Regions from separate parts of the Homo sapiens genome. Here region 2 is linked to region 1. The links are contacts of gene promoters, found by promoter capture Hi-C in human tissues and cell types (Jung and others, 2019). All regions are on one chromosome and are shown on one strand. Each heading gives the region's core, a stretch centred on a gene start or on the middle of the fragment in contact. The rest is flanking DNA. Distances are from core to core; before and after follow the strand shown. Region 1 holds the start of ADH7 (alcohol dehydrogenase 7 (class IV), mu or sigma polypeptide). Region 2 overlaps ADH5 (alcohol dehydrogenase 5 (class III), chi polypeptide).

Evidence for each region. The method cuts DNA at HindIII sites, captures the fragments that hold promoters and counts their contacts. A contact is called where the count stands out against the background at its distance.
Region 2: a fragment that was not itself captured here is called in contact with the fragment with the promoter of ADH7 in region 1 in 1 of the 25 tissues and cell types used here (aorta).

The regions. Positions count from the first base shown.
Region 1 is chr4:99,433,586-99,436,606 of GRCh38, forward strand. It overlaps ADH7 (alcohol dehydrogenase 7 (class IV), mu or sigma polypeptide), which reads right to left and starts at 1,757. Exons shown (of 9, transcript NM_000673.7): 1 at 1,631-1,757. The coding sequence starts at 1,648. RefSeq lists a promoter at 1,670-2,243. The HindIII fragment of the contact is 9,235 bases long and covers 1-3,021 here.
Region 2 is chr4:99,069,953-99,072,976 of GRCh38, forward strand. It overlaps ADH5 (alcohol dehydrogenase 5 (class III), chi polypeptide), which reads right to left. Exons shown (of 9, transcript NM_000671.4): 8 at 2,621-2,759; 9 at 1,026-2,489. The coding sequence ends at 2,465. Among named protein-coding and RNA genes, the nearest start is that of ADH5, 17 kb to the right of the region's middle. The HindIII fragment of the contact is 4,225 bases long and covers 1-3,024 here.

The sequences.
Region 1 (3,021 bases), core at 507-3,006:
TGGGGTCTTTCAAGAAGTAATTAATTTAAAATGTGGTAATCAGGGTGGAACCTGATCCAATATGGCTGGTGTCTTTATTAGAAGGGGAGATTAGGAAAAGGGAAGATCATGTGAAGACAGCGAGAAGAGGGTCATCCACAAGCCAAGGACACAGGCCTCAGAAGAAACCAACCCTGATGACACCTTAATCTCAGAATTGCAGCCTTCAGATGTACAAGAAAACAAATTTCTGCTGTTTAAGCCACCCAGTCTGTGATATTTTGTTATGGAAGCCCTAGGAAACTAATACAGTTATCTTTTACTTTTTTAATGAAAAAGAAAACATTTATTATAAAGAGAAAAAATCAATCCCAATGTAAAGGGAAACTCCTTTCAAGAGCTACACTGGAACACTACAGAAAGTTGGGAAATATATAATCCTTAGGCAAACCACACTATTGCATGACCATATATCAAAATCATATAACTTTTATACTCTTTATATATTATATACTGTATTATTAATTGGAAAGTGCTGCCTTGAGGCTACTTTCTCCATCATCAGAAATGTTCTTACAGTGGATGAATATCGACTTCCTAGAAATAGTGTAACCAGACCTGAAGCATCTGTTGGGTGGTAAAAGTTGCAAATTTTTAAGATTCCTTTCAGTTCTAAGATTCATTAATATCCATGGGTAGAGTTGCTAGTTTCTGTAGTGCAAAATTAACTTCCCAAGTAATCTAGTTTTGCTGGATTTCTGACCCAAATTAGGATGGTTTTATTCCAGTTCTATCCAATTCTAGTAAAACTTATTTCAAATTCTAACATCATAGAGTCTCCTGACTTGTCACATTACCCAGACTTCTCATGTCATCTTTATTTTTCCAAAACCTTAAGCAAGCTAAATGCAAAATTGTTCAAGTTAAAACAAAACAAACAAAAAAATTTAGTCCTTTAAGCAATTATGTACCCATTTAAAGTAAGGAAATATACTGACCTATTTTCAAATAAAAAAAAACAAAGCAAAGCTGTTTCTAAAGTTAATACCAACTCTGCTAACTCTGTTGTTTTTAGAACGATAAACATACTTTACCAATAATATAGTCTTGATTTTAAAGAATTTTTAAATATATATTTTGATAAAAATTACATTTGTAAGAAACCTAAAATTCATGACACTTTCTTGGCCATTTTGCATCCCAGAATTAGCATTTTCCATTCTTAATGGCAGGAACGTTTCTTCCAACATCTGGGCATGAGACCCTGGTTTCCCATTGAACTACTGCAGCGAGTGCAGCACATGCTACTGAGACGATTGAAGTGTCCTTGTGGAAACATTTGGCTTCCTGGAGCAATTGCCCAGCTATCCGGAAATCAAATTATGAATAATGCCAATATAAATCAATTTCTCTATTTTCCACCAATGTCTTGCTGACATTGGATATACTATTTCCAACTTACCCCTGCTTCCACTGACATTCTCTGAAACACCATATCCAGTGTTTCCCTCACTGTATGCCTGCTCACCAAGCATTTCATTCCTCAAGGAATATCTCCAAGTGTTTAATTACTTTAATGGATTCAAAGTTCTAAGTATCAGCCTCACATCATTAGGTCATGATGAGGAGGGGACAGAAATGTTCCACTTACTTTTCCAGCAGTGCCCATCCTGTCTTTGTCTTGGATCTGTATTTCTGCAAACATAGACTTTTTCTGACTGATGCTCAGTTCACTCTGTTGTATATAACAGCAGCTTGTGCCTTCACATAGATAGTCTGGCTTCAGAGTTCCACCTTCAGCAATATGACTCACAGCCGTCACAACTTTGCAATGGTCTGCAAGCCCTACCCTTTGCAGACCAACTTATAAAAAGAAATACAGTAACTACTATGATCAAACCAAGAGGAGGGATCTAACAAAAACAAGATAATCAAAGCTATTGAAAAGGGCTGAAAGCATTCCTATCCACCTTATTTTGAAGGATATAAAAACGGGTTAGGTTACTTCACTTCAACACAATCATGAAAAATGTATTGGGTGTTTAAGTGCAAGCTGCTTTGCCTAGGCATGGCTGATTTTAGAGATGCGTGTGTACATCTCTACTTCTTAATGCTCTACTTCATTCTGCAAAGACTTGATGTGGTTTCTGGAATTAAATATAAATGAAAACAGAGCCAAGGAAATGTAAAATAATTGCAACAGTAGGTCAAGTTTGGGCAAGAGAAGTTGAGATGATATAAAATATCAATATGGATGACTATGGTTTCTAAGTATTTTAGGTGTAGAAAGTTAAGTGAAACTTTCTGTGTCTGCACTTAGAGAAATTATCATCTGACTCCAAATCCCATTAACCACAGAGTTGCCTCATATGGTTGTACAGTTTGTTTACGGCACCAATGTAACACAGTGCAGGGGCTCAAGAGAAATTGAAATCCAGCCTGCATACTGGCTATCGAATGCCAGAGGGTTTTCATCTACTTGGGCAAGTACCTAGGTCTTCTTGAGTAGCTGTTTAACCATTACAGACCATTATTTCTTAATATAAGTTGCAATGGCTCCAGAAGCTTCTGGATCTATTATTTGATAGGAGAATGTCCAGTATAGATGTTATTTTTGACAGTAGATGGTCAGCATACTGGTACACCAGATGGTCAGCATACTGGTACACCATCACCTCCAAGAAAACTTTACACAAAGGATATTTTACTTTTGTTAAGTGATCCAGTGAAGCAGGTTTTCTAAGTCTTCAGACAAAGCTGTTCAAGCTATGAAGTCCAGAACCTGGACTCTTAACAACCCAGAGATGAAATTTGCTAAGAGTTTATTTTTCAGATACAAACAAAAGTTTCTTTTCAAAAATAAGTATACATTTTTTCCACACATCTCTCTTTCAATATAACATAGTAAATGTACATCCAATTTAACATATATTATGTCAAATTCAGAATTTGTAATTAGAATTTGTTACTACAACTCATTAACCAAATCAAATCCACCAGGAAAAACCATTGCCAGTTGATTTGGCTTGTGAGTAAGCACCA
Region 2 (3,024 bases), core at 56-2,555, 360 kb before region 1:
GTTGCCCAGGTTGGTCTTGAACTTCGGAGGCCAAGTGATCCTCCCACTTTGGGCTCTCAAAGTGCTGGAATTACAGTTGTGAGCCACCGCACTTGGCCTATTTTAATATTAATCATCTTAAAACTGCTTTACATTTTCATATTGGCGAACCTAAAAAACGTTTGCCATTGCAATTCATGAATATCTCATGTTTGTTTGAGAAGAAAAGTCAAAGGAACAAGACCTTTAGGAGTTACTGGCTCTCCTCCATACTCTCCATAACTGTTTTGTTACTGCAGTTGCCAACATAGGATACTTTTGTTCCTAGAAGGCTGGGCTACACCAAAGATTAAAAGCACATTTCCTACAAGTGGAGTAGAAGCTAGTTTTAATTTCGTCTTCCTTTCAGTCCACTTAAGATAACAGTTGTGGCCCCTTTGGGCCCTCATATCTCCAGCCCTCTAGGTAAAACAGGAGGGAAGCTGGACTACATTGTCAGGCACTTCAAATGCACCAAAGTTCTGAAAAGGGGAAATCCTGACCATTACTACCAGTTTGTTTCCCACTTTTCAATCAATGACATATTGCTCTCTCACACAATTCTGTGGGAGCATTTAAACCATATCAATAAATTGAAAAAGCACATAGCATCAATCCAACCAAAAGATATTTGCATGGTAAACGTGATGCACTGATATAAACTCTATGTTATCATGTGGAGAAAAAAGTTCACAGAGTAGTGTTGATAGTATTCCTTTCGTGTAATTTTAGAGGATATATATGCTATTGTGTGCATAGAAACTCCTAAAAAGATACGTAAGAAACTTAACAGTAATCACCCATTTTTTTGCAGGTGTATAGCTTTTCTTTCTCATTATATAATTTCCTAACAATTTATATTTTCTAACCCTTAGGTATATTGCATTCATTAATTTATTTTTATGTCAAGGATTATCAGGATGGTAAGATCCTGGACCATTTTTGTTTGCTTCTTTATACTTCTCAGGATAAAATAACCTAAATGTTACTTACCACCACCAGGAAGATTTATGTGACTACATTAAAACTTTATTCAACAAAATACCATAAAGTAAAAAGAAAAGTCACAAGATAGACTAGAAGATATTTGCAACATATAAAACTGACAAATGATTGATGTCTAGAATAAAAGAACTCCTAAAAATTATTCAGAGAAAAATAATTCAATACAAAGTTGAGCACAGGATATGAACAGGTTCTTCACAATAAAATGTCCATTAGAATGAAGGATTTAACGAGAATTGAGGAAAATGCAAACTAAAGTCATAATAAAACACCATTCCATACTCATGTAATTCACAAAAACTCACATTTACTTTGAAGAGCAATTTGGCAATGTCTATAAGGCTAAATGTGTTTATTCTGTGATACGTCTTAGGTAACACGCAGTGAGCCCAATGCAGAAGAATGTTCCACTACAGTGTTATAATACAGAAACTGGCAACAACTTCATGCCTTCAACTGGAGAACAGATAAATTATGGTAGTTCCCGTAATTGAATTCTGCTACACAGGACTAAAATTAATGAACGAGAGCTTCAGATATAATTATACAATAATGAGTGAAAAAAGCTGTAGAATGAGCAAGTATGAGGCTTAAAAATATATAAAACAGTACTAAAGAGTAGATGGTTTAGGTTATACACAGTGAAAGTACAACAACACAGGAATGATAAACATCAAATTGTGGATAATTGTTACCTCTGGAGGGGAGGAATGGCAATGTGATCTCGAAGTGGCAAAATGTTAAGATTTGACAAAAGTAGGTGCTGAGAACTTGGATATTCAGTATGTAGTTCACTATACTAGAAATAGTACAGTCACAACCAACACATACATACACCTATTTAAGCCCAGAATGCTGTTTCAATAATACATTTTAGTGCCCCCTGAAGGGCAGATGCCATCCTAGGAATTTGGGGTACAGGTATGAACAAGGCACAGTACCTCCCTTCAAGATAATATCACAGAAGCAGACTTGGGTCCTGATTAACTTTGTCACTGATGGCTAGGATCTGTTCTTTAATCAACGGGGACTGAGACCCTTAAAAGTTCAACGTTATGTTTCTGAGGTTTCAGACACCCACCACTGCCCTGCTTCCTTTCCCTTTCCCTTGCAGAATGAAGATAATGGGCAGACAAACCGTGACAATGATGACAGCATAAAACAAGACAATTTCCACACAAATGTAGAAATTACTTTTATTATGTTAAAATATTCCTTAATAAACTAGCAATTATTTATGTGGAGGAGCATCCAGAAAACAGGTTCATGACTGAATTATCCTTGTCCTTGATTATAGAGATTCATGAATGACACACATAACCCTATTTTCTGGAGTAGCTGTGAAGCTCTACGAGGCTGTGAGGTTGGAGGCGCTTCTCCCTGCCTGTTAAGCTGCTCCTATCACATCACGACAGGATGGACATTATTTTTCTCTTTTGAATTAAATCTTTACAACAGTTCGAATGCTGTAAAAGGAAGCAACATACTAAGTTTTAAATGATACCTTTAAGACAACTAAAATTGTGTTTTTCGACTCTCCATCCCCTCAAACTCAACATCATTATTACATTCTATGATATATAAAGAGAAAGCCTACCTCTTTCCAGAATGCATCAGTTCAAAGGCTTTGTTGATTTCATCAAAAGACAGATTGTGAGTCACAAATTCATCAACTTTTATCTTTTTGGACATATATTCAGACACCAACTTTGGGACACTTTCTACACTCTTCCATCCTAAAAGAAATCACACATTAATTTATTCAACAAATTTCTGCAGTATGCTTGTTACTTAGCTGAGGACAAAAGGCATTTAAAAGAATGAATTTTTTGATGAGTTAAAGAGTAATGAGAAACTCCAAAATAGCATGGAGATGAAGAATTTGACCAACACCTTTCAGTGAAGAAGTAAATACTTTTGAAATTTCCCTTCCTCTGTATTAAGATTTACTAAAACCTCATTAAAGTTTTGGCCAATTGAGACTTTTAAACTACCCAGGAC